Regions from separate parts of the Homo sapiens genome. Here region 1 is linked to region 2. Evidence: promoter capture Hi-C in 16 types of primary human blood cells and fetal thymus (Javierre and others, 2016). All regions are on one chromosome and are shown on one strand. The core of a region is centred on a gene start or on the middle of the fragment in contact, and the rest is flanking DNA. Distances in the headings are between cores, read along the strand shown.

The links. The method cuts DNA at HindIII sites, captures the fragments that hold promoters and counts their contacts. A CHiCAGO score of 5 or more calls a contact.
Region 1: a contact is called between the fragment with the promoter of POLRMT here and a fragment that was not itself captured in region 2, in 1 of 17 cell types (neutrophils). The highest score is 5.5, in neutrophils.

The regions. Positions count from the first base shown.
Region 1 is chr19:631,348-636,933 of GRCh38, forward strand. It overlaps POLRMT (RNA polymerase mitochondrial), which reads right to left and starts at 2,190. Exons shown (of 21, transcript NM_005035.4): 1 at 2,078-2,190; 2 at 1,487-1,591. The coding sequence starts at 2,165. LOC105372234 (a long non-coding RNA gene) reads left to right here and starts at 2,117. Exons shown (of 2, transcript XR_936226.2): 1 at 2,117-2,548; 2 at 2,637-5,586. RefSeq lists silencers at 1,974-2,133, 2,144-2,403. The HindIII fragment of the contact is 10,035 bases long and covers 1-5,586 here.
Region 2 is chr19:1,409,127-1,415,113 of GRCh38, forward strand. The region is part of intron 1 of DAZAP1 (DAZ associated protein 1); the gene reads left to right. Among named protein-coding and RNA genes, the nearest start is that of DAZAP1, 4.5 kb to the left of the region's middle. The HindIII fragment of the contact is 3,424 bases long and covers 1,053-4,476 here.

The sequences.
Region 1 (5,586 bases), core at 940-3,439, 780 kb before region 2:
GGACCCAGGTGTCCAGATGTGGTGGCTCACGCCTGTAATCCCAGCACTTTAGGAGGCCGAGGCAGGCGGATCACGAGGTCAGGAGATCAAGACCATCCTGGCTAACACGGTGAAACCCCGTCCCTACTAAAAATACGAAAAATTAACCGGGCGTGGTGGTGCGCGCCTGTAGTTCCAGCTACTCGGGAGGTTGAGGCAGGAGAATTGCTTGAACTCGGGAGGCGGAGGCTGCAGTGAGCCAAGATCGCACCATTGCACTCCAGCCTAGCAACAGATTGAGAATCCGTCTCAAGAAAAAAAAAATTGCTGAAATAAAAAGACAAGCGTGATGTCCGCCTTCAGAGTGCTCCAAAACTCAGGAGATACTTTTAGGATTAACAGTTGAGAGCTTTGTTTTGTTTTGTTTTGTTTTTGAGATGGAATTTCCCTCGTTGCCCAGGCTAGAGTGCAATGGCATGATCTCGGCTCACCGCAACCTCCACCTTCCGGGTTCAAGCGATTCTCCTGTCTCAGTCTCCCCGGGTTCAAGCGATTTTCCTGCCTCAGCCTCCTGAGTAGCTGGCACTGCAGGCGTTCACCACCATGCCCAGCTAATTTTTGTATTTTTAGTAGAGACAGTGTTTCACCATGTTGGCCAGGCTGGTCTTGAACTCATGACCTCTTGATCCGCCCGCCTCGGCCTCCCAAAGTGCTGGGATTACAGGCGTGAGCCACCGCACCAGGCCTCGGACCCTTGACCTCTTGATCCGCCCACCTTGGCCACCCAAAAGTGCTGGGAGTACAGGCGTGAGCCACCGCACCAGGCCTCGAACCCCCGACCTCTTGATCCGCCCACCTCGGCCACCCAAAAGTGCTGGGATTACAGGCGTGAGCCACCGCACCTGGCCAGGTTTTTTCCCTTTATAAAGGTTCTCCCGCCTCTCCCTTCCCGGCTGCCTAATGGACGCAGACAGGATGTGGGACAGAAGCACCGGCGGGAAGCAAGCACAGGGAAGCTCCCACCTCCCTCCCACACCACCAGCCAGGCCAGGACGAGGGCCTGCCACCGCTGGAGCCTGGGCTGTCCCTCCCAAGTTTCGCAGTCATCCAGTCTCCATTAGGCGCCTACCCCCCAGAGCCAAGCCAGGACAGCTGAGTCAGTTCAGGGTTCACATCCTGGCTCTGCACATGTGGCCTTGGCGGCGGGGCCGGGGGGGGGGTCTCTCCAGACATAATCTTGGGCCTCACCTATGTCCCTGGAAAGTGGGAGCACCTGGTGGGGTTCTGGGGAGGGGGAATTACGAGAGCTCCAGGAAGGAGCCTGCTCAGCAAGGACAGGGCCCATGAGCGGTGCAAGAGATGTTTCAGCAACGCCGTCTGGGCGTGTCCTGGGACCCGAGAGGTGGAGACCGCCCTCAGCCTGTCTCAGAATCTGAGCCTTTGCCTTTTCTCCCGGCAGCAGGGAGCGGACTCTCCTCTCCCGGGCCGCCGTGGGGGTCGCGCTCACCCTCCAGCAGCTCCACGTGGCCCCAGTCCTTCCTGCGGTCTTGGTCTTGCTCCTGGGGGCTGGCGGACGAGCTCCTCCTGGGGCCGCAGACGCCACCGGCGGTCCCTGCGGGAAAGACGAGAGCGGCTGAGCGGGGCCGGGCGTGTGGGCGGGGGCCTCCATAAAGGCAGAAGCCGAAGGGTCGAAGGGCAAAGGAGCCCTAAACGCAGCGGAAACTCTCGGAGCACGGGCTTAAGTTGGAAAGAAACTAAGACAGCGAAGGTGGAAGGGCCCCGCCGCGGCGAACACGGGCGCGGAACCGCCGAGAGAGGGTTCCTCGCACTCGAGGTGCAGCAGGTCAAAGGTTAAGAGCCCTAAACACCACACCTGGGGTCAGGAGGCTGCATAAGAAACCACGAGTCAAAGGTCAGACTGCACGGAGGAGCCTCAGTCGAAAAGCGGGCAAGGGCGAGTGGAAAGCGGGGCCGGGTCGGTGGGCTGCGCACGCCCAGGTGCAAAGAGGCAAAGGTCAAAGCGCCAAAGGCCCCGGCCGCGCGGGGAGGAGCCCACGCCGTGGCCCCCGGGCTGCCTGGCCGTCTCCCTTTGTGTTACCTTCTTTGCCGGGGAGTCCCGGGCGGCCGCAAGGCCGTAGGGCTCGTTTGAGCCCCGCCGCTCCGCGGCCCCAGCAAAGTGCCGACATTACGCACGCCGCTCCAGGCCACCCCACCGGCCCGCGCCTGCGCATGCGCCCGCGCCGCCTGCCGGGAGTTGTGGTTTCATGGTCGACGGAGGCTGCGAAGGGAAACCCCAGCCGGAAGTAGACTCCCAGGATGCAGCGGAGGCGCGAAGGCATGCGCCGGTGGACGCTCTGATTGGTTCCTCCTGCTGTTTTTAAAGGGAGGGGGCGGGACAGAGCTGTTGCCGTGGCAACTGGGAGGCACTCTCAGGCTGTTTTCCCGAGGACCTCAAATCCGGACTTTTTTTCTGTTTTTCTTTCTTTTTTGGTTTTGTTTTGGACGCGTTGTGGCCCAGGCTGGAGTGCAGTGGCGTGATCATAGCTCAGTGCAGCTTCGAACTGCTGGGGTAAAGAGATCCTCGCCCCTCGGCTTCCCAAAGCGCTGGGATTGCAGACGCCGCCACCGTGCCCGGCTTTTTTTTTTTTTTTTTCAAGGCATACTCATCTAATAACGAGGACAGCATCTGCAATTTAGAGATTCCTGTCCGCAACCTTCATTGCTCCAACGACAACTTTTGGGTAAGAGTCATTAGGATGCCGTCTATCATGGAGGAAGCTGAGGCTCAGAGAGGGCCACCAAGTTGCTGGAAGACACAGCACGTGCGACCTCAGGGAGGCTGCAAGGAGAGAAAGCCCCAGTCCGCGAGACTCCCAGCCTCCAGCTTCAGTTTACCCTCCAATCCCCAAGCCCTCAGGGGCAGGAGCCGAATGGAGCGGCAGGCTTGGATTCACCTGCTAAGTGGGGTGAGGTCAAGGGAATGAAATAAACCTCGGAGCCTAGAGCCTGCCCTGGTCTCCGCGTGATCCTGCCTAGGAGGAGCAGGGCGGGAGCTTTAGAATGGAACCTGGAAGGTGTGCCCACCTGTGTCGTTCAGCCGGGGCAGCAGGCCAGAGGCGGGAGCGCCTGCTGTGGGGCAGTAGGCTTGGGAAGGGTGAGAATAGGAATATCTGGGGGTAACTGTGTTCCAGGCTAATATCCCAGTTGCAAAGGGGAGCTGGTTTGGTGGCTCAGGCCTGTCATCCCAGCACTTTGGGAGGCTGAGGCGGGCGGATCACCTAAGGTCAGAGTTCGAGACCAGCTTGGCAAATACGCAAGCATGCCTGGCAACATGGCAAAACCCCGTCTCTAGTAAAAATACAAAAATTATCCGGGGGTGGTGGCGGGCACCTGTAATCCCAGCTACTCGGGAGGCTGAGGCAGGAGAATCGCTTGAACCCGGGAGGCGGAGGTTGCAGTGAGCCAAGATCTCGCCACTGCACTCCAGCCTGGGTGACAGAGCGAGAACCTGTCTCAAAAAAAAAAAAGTGCAAAGGGAGGTCAGTTCAGTGCCTCAGGCCTGTAATCCCAGCACTTTGGGAGGCTGCGGCGGGAGGATCGCTTGAGCCCAGGAGTTCCAGACAAGCCTTGGGCAACCGAGATACTGAGACCCAGTCTCCACCAAAGGAAAAAAAGAAATTAGCCAGGCATGGTGGTGCACACCTGTGGTCCCAGATACTCGGGAGGCTGAGGCAGGAGGACTGCTTGAGCCCAGGAGGTTTAGACTGCAGTGAGCTGAGATGGCGCCACTGTACTCCAGCCTGGGTTGACAGAACAGGACCCTGTCTCAAAACAAAACAAGTGCAAAGGCCCTGAGGCAGGAACAAGCGTGGACAGAGGAGCAATTTGAGCAGAGTGGGGCTGGGGAGAGGGAGCAAAGATGTAGCTGGGGCTCAGTTAGGGGGCCTGACCACACGGGGGCTCGGGGGCCTCAGCTCAAGCTATCCTCCATCCCCAAACCCTGGCACTTCAGTTTCCCCATCAGCCCAGAACGAGGACTCGACCTCACTCTGGAAGGGCCTGGCAGCCTCCTTACAGCACATTCCAGACGCTGCTGCCGACGCCTGCGTGAGCGCACTGATGCCACCGGCTGGGAATGTTTTCGACAGACGGCAGCACCCTCCCTCACCTGCCTCAGTCCACCTCAGGGTGCCCCAGCGGGCTGTGACCTCAGACCTCACCCACTACTGGGGTCACCTGCCTGGCCCTGAATCAGCCAGGCCTGGTGTGCCAAGACCTACAGACACCCCCTGCACCCCTGCAGGCTGGCAGAGCCAGAAACTTGGGTGGAAACCGACTTCTGAACTATTTCACCATTCCTTATGCGTTAGTCTTTTCTTTTATTTGATGAGATCCCAGCACTTTGGGAGGCCGAGGCGGGCGGATCACGTGAGGTCAGGAGTTTGAGACCAGCCTGGCCAACATGGTGAAACCCCGTCTCTACTAAAAATACGAAAATTAGCCGGGCATGGTGGCCTGTGCCTGTAATCCCAGCTACTCAGGAGGCCAAGGGAGGAAAATCACTTGAACCTGAGAGGTGGAGGTTACAGTGAGCCAAGATCGCACCACTGCACTCCAGCCTTGGGCAATGTAGCCAAACCCCATCACTACAAATAATACAAAAAAATTTTGTTGGCTGTGATGGTGCCTGCCTGTGGCCCCATCTACTTGGGAGGCTGAGGTGGGAAGATGTAGAATTGCTTGAGCCAGGAGGCAGAGGCTGCAGTGAGCTGTGATTGAGCCACTGCACTCCAGCCTGGGCGACAGAGCGAGACCCTGTCTCAAAAAAAAAAGAACATAATCTGGGTTTTGGAATAAGACAGCAGTTTCTGAAACAGCTCATTGCCCAAATTCCAGCCTCGCAACTCTGTAGCCGCCACCACCCCCCAGCCCCACCATTTATTTTAACTACATCTGTCTCCACCACTCCTGTATTAAGTAAATGCAATATTGGCTGGTCATGGTGGCTCATGCCTGTAATTCCAGCACTTTGGGAGGCTGAGGCAGGCAGATCCCCTGAGGTCAGGAGTTCGAGACTGGCCTGGCCAACGTGGTGAAACCCTGTCTCCACTAAAAATTCAAAAATTAGCCGGACGTGGTAGTGGGTGGTGCCTGTAATCCCAGCTACTTGGGAGGCTGAGGTAAGAGAAATGCTTGAATCCAAGAGACTGAGGTTGCAGTGAGCTGAGATCTCGCCGCTGCACTCCAGCCTGAACGACAGAGCGAGACTCCGTCTCAAAAATAAATTAATAAATACAACATTAATTATTTTTCTTGCTTAAGTTTTACGAAGAGACTTAATATCACCATCAAAAGTGGGAAACCATATATCTGGCCGGGCGTGGTGGCTCCCGCCTGTCATCCCAGCACTACGGGAGGCCGAGGCGGGCGGATCCCCTGAGGCCGGGAGCTGGAGACCAGCCTGGCTAACATGGTGAAACCCTCATCTCCAATAAAAATAACAAAAATTAGCCGGGCATGGTGGGTGCCTGTAATCCCAGCTATTCAGGAGGCTGAGGCAGAAGAATCACTTGAACCCGGGAGGCGGAGGTTGCAGGGAGCCGAGAT
Region 2 (5,987 bases), core at 1,515-4,014:
CCCTGCCTAGCCCGTGCTGTGAGTCCTCTCCAGGCACTTTGACTTGGCAGGGTCCGTGTGCCTGTGTGAGGGACATTGCAGGGATGGGCCTGAGCAGGGAGTCCACCGGCCATGGGGGATGGAGCCATCGACTTTGGGGTGAGGCAGGGAAAGGGCTCCCAGATGGGGTACCTGGATTAGGTCCATTCAAGCCGCGGGTGAACGTGGGCCCGCTCCACCCAAGCCGTGGCTGTGAGGAGGCTGGAGAGAGGTGAGGGCTCCTGTCCCCTCCCTGCATGGACACCCTTGGGAAGTGGGGCAGCTGGGGTCCCAGCCTGGGTCTGGAGGGGTCCCACCCACAGCACAAATAGGCTCGCAGGCCACCCGGACGCCACGGGCTGCGTGGAGGAGAACTGGAGTGCATGGACCCTGCTCTCCTCCCCGGCTGCCAGGAGTGTCCACTGCTTTCTAAGTCAGACTCCTTGGGCAAGAAGTGTTGCCACAGCCGCCCGTCGCATGGGAGACCGGCTTCCATTCTATGCGGAGTCCACGGTCTGCTCTGATCTTGCTGTGTGGAGTTGTTGTGTGCGTGAAATGCTTGTGACCCTGCGAAGCGCCCTCCTGGCAAGTCCCCTGCAGGTGCGGTGGGTGCCATGCAGGAGGGTGCTGAGCTTGGATGGAAGCAGGCCCTCTCTGCGGCAGATGGCGGCTCTCAGGACGCCATGGGTCTGCGGTGTCCCTTACCCACTGGGGGGGCTCGGCAGCCTGAGGAGCTCCCTCTTCCTGATGCAGAGCCCTCACTGCTCACTGCCATGGAGGAGGCAGGAGATCCCGCCGGACCCCGCTTGGAGGGCTGGGCCTGGAGCATGCATGGGTGCGGGGTCAACGCCTCAGGAGACTTGGAGCTTGGGAGCCCCCTGTTCTGGGACACTTGTGGCCGTCCAGCTGCTGCCCTGGGAATCCACACCTGGAAGGTGGGTTAGGGAGCCATCCTTGGGGGAAGCTCTGCTTTTGAGTCTGAGAAGTCGTCCCAAGTTTTGAGGGTCCCTGTGCTGGCTTAGAAGTCCATGTAAAGCTTGATGGGGGATGAAAGTCAGCTGAGGCCTGCCGGTGATAACGGATGCCTTACACACACCGACTTCCAGTCAGCTTGAGGGGGGCTTCATGCAGGAGGAAGCGCATACGTGTGGTGGGGTGTGGGGAGTCCCTCTCTGGATCCTGGTGGGTTTGGCACGCGGACCCTACATGGTGGATGTGATGGACAGTGTCCTCCTTTGGGAGCGGGGCCTGTCCTGGTCCTCTTGTGAAGGGTGGGGGACAGGCACTGACCTGTCAGGAGGGTTAGAGGGTTGGCACCAGCAGGTGGCCTGGAGCGCTCAGAGCACGCGCGATCAGGAAGGCCCGAGTCTCCAGTGTGCCCTCCCTGGCCTTGTGAAGTCATCTTAAAGTCTGGCTTGAGCGCCTCTGACTTGGATTCTGGGAAGCTGACACAGCGCGGCCGGGGTCGCCACATCCTGTTGAGTAGCCGCTGGGTGCTAGGCGCCTGGGTGGTAGACCAGGTGTCAGGGATAGGGCCCATGCCTGGCCTACTGGGGAGAGGACAGAGGCTCAGAGGGGTCACCTCGAGCGCCCAGGCCATTGTGTTCTGCTGGCTTCCAAGGCAGCACACGGTCATGGAACTGGAGAGAGAGGTTTATGGAAGATTTTATCTGGTACACTGGGGAATGGTAAGACAGGGACACCTGGAAATATTGTAGGAAAGTCACAGAGGGAGGAAGGACTCAGCGGAGAGAGGAGAAAGCCGCCTCTGGGCAGCTTCGAGGATACCCAGGACTGTGGCCGGGGGCCATGCAGCTCAGAGCCAGGCCCATGGCAGGTCTCTGGGTTTATTGGGTGGCTGTGGAAGGAGACATCCTGAGTGGGGCTCCTGGCTGGGCCCCTAGAGGCCGTGACTACTTGTACCTGTGCAGAGTGAGCACAAGGCACCTGGCAAGATTGTTGGTCAGGCCAGAGAGGGCCGTGATCTGGGGGAGGCTGTTGCAGTGCGGGGAGTGATAGGGAACCTCATGGGGCCGTGCCGGCCTTTCTGGGGCTCTCTTGGTGCATTTGGAGTTATTCCGAGGCAGGTCTCCTGGGCTCTGTCAGCACTCTGGCCTGGATCACTCTGGGGCACCGTGGGCACTGCAGGGTGCTGGGCAGCACCTTTGGCCTCCATTCACTCCGGGTCAGGAGTACCCCCAGTCGTGACAACCACAAATGTTCCCAGACATCACCCAGTGTCCTGCTGGGGGGAGAGCCACTGTCTGGGAGCATCTGTGCTTTTGGCCTGGTTGCCCCTGCGCTGGGGGCCGCTGCTCCTTGTGGTTTATGGCTTGTCCTGTGTCGGCTCCTTTGATTCCTGTGAATGGGCCTTGAGGGTGGATGTGCTCCTGACTGGCTCGCCTTGGCTCCAATGGTCTGGAGCAGGCCGGTGTCTAGAAAGGCAGCAGCATGGACCCTGGCGCTTGCCCTTCACACAGCAGCTCCCCAGTGGCCCAGAGCTAGCAGCAGCGCGCAGCGTGCCCAGCTGTGCTTGTAGCCTTGGCTCTAACCCTTGGCTTTGCCAGAGAGACTGAGGCACAGAGGAGTTGAGGGATGGGCCCGGGGTCACCCCAGGGGGTGGAAGATCCGGAGCTGGGAGTCCACACTCCTCCACTGCCCGCCCCGCACAGAGGGCGCTCCTGGTCAGGCGGCTATGTTCATGGTGCGACCCGTCAATCTGAGGTTGTGCTGTCTTCTGTGAACTGAGGCCTTTTCCCATCCAGGCCTGGTCCCCGTGACACCATGTCATGATGTCAGAATCCCTGAGAGCTGTGACAGGGCTTTTGGCAGAGGCCAGTCATTCGACAGATGCTTATAGGCTGAGCTTCCAGCTTGGCTCCAGGCGTTGCCAAGGAGAACACTGGTCCGCCTGGGAGGGCGGGGCTGGCAGGGAGAGGATGAGGGTGACCACAGTTAGCACCCAGGATGTGGGCATTCAGGGGCTCCTTCAGCACACAGCAGCGCGTTCCAGTTCACGGACCGCTCCTGTGTTCTGTGGACCCCACACCCTGCAGGCGTGGGCTGGAGGGGGGGCATCTGACCCTGCTGGGGAGAGGGAGTCCAGGCTATGGAGGGGCGGGCTGGGCTCACTGGCCTGAGGCAGTGGGTGAAGTGGTCCTGGTTTCCCACCTGGTCTTAGGGGCAGGAAAGTCCCTAGAGGCTCTTCCTGATGCTCTGGAAGAAGAGAAGGGTTCCCCACACATCAGCCGCCACTGGGCCTGGACTTCTGCCTCTTGAGATTGTGCACGGAGCTGAGTGTGACTGGCGGAGCCCAGAGCCAGGTGGGGTCTGTGGGGAGGCAGGCTCCTCCTGGCTTGGTCCCCCGGCCCAGCAGGAAGGGAAAGGTCGCCTGCCAACTGCCCCCATTGAGGCTGCTGGCCCCGAATGGCCGGGCTGGCCGCCGGTTTTTGAAGCCCACTCTGGTGCTGCCAGGAGGTCAGGGCTCTTTGTGGTCAGCCTAGGCCAGAGGAAGCCTCTGCAGATGGACTTTACGCATAAATACCGCACAGGCACCCGAATGGCACGCAGCAAGCGAGGTTGCCATCCAAAACGGCTTTTGCTTTAACAGGCAGAAGAGGGTGGCTGCGCCGGCCACCGTGGATTGAGCACCTGCCAGGTGTCGAGCTGCAGGCCCTGGGTGCCAGGCTTGCAGATCCTGGGAGATGTTCATCATGACCTTTGATGGGCAGACTGCACGCTGGACTCCAGGTTGCAAGGGAAGAAGTGGAGCTCGTCCCACGCCTCCCCCACTAATGAGAACACCCCTTTTGGGTTTGTGGGGTGTGAGGTCTGTAGGAGCCACGACTTCCAGTGTCGGAGATGCCGTCAGCTGGGTGATGACTCTCCCACCCAGCGGGCCCCTCAGAGGCAGGGTGCAGGAGCCACATTGCTCACCGACCCCTTCATCTGCGTAGGCCAGTGTTGCCTTGCCCCGTTAACGTCCTCAGTCCACACGCCGCCAGCCAAGGTGCAGGCTGAGCAAGCCTGGAGCTGAGGACAAGCGGACCGCCAGCCCCGTAGCAAGCCCACGAGAGCCAGCAGCTCCTCCTTTTGGCCTCTGCCCGCGCCCGGCTTCCTGGACTCCGACGTTTACTTGTGTGAGAGTTGGTTCTGCTGCCTGGGCAGTTGATGGACAGTGTCTGGGAGGTGCCTGCCCAGGGCTCCGCATGTTTCTGATGTGCCGGCTTCTCACTCACGACCTGGTGAGGTTGGCAGCCAGGAGCTTTCTTATTTTATTGATTAAAACATCCTGAGATTCAGAAGTAGGGACTTTGTGCCAGGGCCCTGGAGGCAGTCCCTGCCACTGAAGAGATGACCCTGCTTTCCGGGACTTCCCGGAGGCTTCTGTCTGTAGACCAGGGAGAAGGTGTTCGCCGGTGGCTCCTGAGTGGTAGTAAAAGACACATGGACACAGGAAGCTTTAGCGTTAGAAGCTGCTCTCAAATATCTCAACAGAAACACACAGTGTGGCCGCGCGCGGTGCCTCACGCCTGTCATCCTAGCACTTTGGGAGGCCGAGGCGGGCGGGTCACCTGCGGTGGGGAGCTCCAGACACAGCTATGTGAAACGAAAGCTATCTGTTGCTGTCTCAGATTCCATAAGGACTGAGACTTGTTTCAAAAGAAACTGAAATTCTGTCTTGTTCTCAGTAATGAAAGTCTTTTATACCATAATTGTATATATAACTTCTGACTTACAGGAAAATTACAAAAATTCCCATATCCTCTTGGCCCTGCCAGACTCACCATTGGCTGACATTTTACCCTTTGGCACGTGGTGCCTCTTGCCCCACCCCCAGTGAACTGTGTGTGTGTGTGTGTGTGTGTGTGTGTGTGTGTGTGTGTGTTTAGATGGACCCTCACTCTGTCGCCCAGGCTGGAGTGCAGTGGCTTGATCTTGGCTCAGTGCAACCTCCGCCTCCCGGGTTCAAGCAGTACACCTCGAGCTCAGCCTCCCGAGTGGCTAGGATTACAGGTGCGCACCACCGAGCCCAGCTAATTTTTGTATTTTTAGTAGAGATGGGGTTTTGCCATGTTGGCCAGGCTGGTCTCGAACTCCTGACCTCAGGTGATCCGCCCACCTCAGCCTTGCAAAGTGCTGGGATTACAGGCGTGAGCCAGTGCACCCATCCCCACTGTGTGTGTTTCTACTGAAATATTTGAGAGTAGCTGGAGACCGATGCAGTCCCCTTTATGTGTACACTGAGATATCTATTGTTTCCCAAGAACAATGACATTCTCTCACATGAACACAGCACAGTGATCAAAATTGAGAAAGTGGCCGGGCGCAGCTACTCACGCCTGTCATCCCAGCACTTTGAGAGGCCGAGGCTGGTGGATCACGAGGTCAAGAGATTGAGACCATCCTGGCCAATATGGTGAAACCCCGTCTCTACTAAAAATACAAAAATTAGCTGGCGGGCGCCTGTAGTCCCAGCTACTCGGGAGGCTGAGGCAGGAGAATCGCTTGAACCCGGGAGGCGGAGGTTGCAGTGAGCTGAGATCGCGCCACTACACTCCAGCCTGGGCAACACAGCGAGACAATTTTTCAAAAAAAAATTGAGAAAGTATTTATTATTTTTTAAAATTGTATTTGAGTATTTTTTATTTTTTTAATTTTATTTAAGAGTATTTTTTATTTTTTTTTTAATTTTATTTAAGAGATGAGATCTCTGTCACCCCTGCTGGAGTGCAGTGACACAATCACGGCTCACTGCAGCCTCGACCTTGACTCAAACGATCCTTCTGCCTCAGCCTCCCAAGTAGCTGGGACTACAGGTGCCTGCCACCACCTGGAGTCTCGTTACGTTGCCCAGGCTGGTCTTGAACTCCTGGCCTCCCGTAATGCTGTGATTATAGGCGTGATCTGCGCCCAGCTGAGAAAGACAGTACTGATACCAGGTTATCTAACCCCCCCGGCCCTGTTTC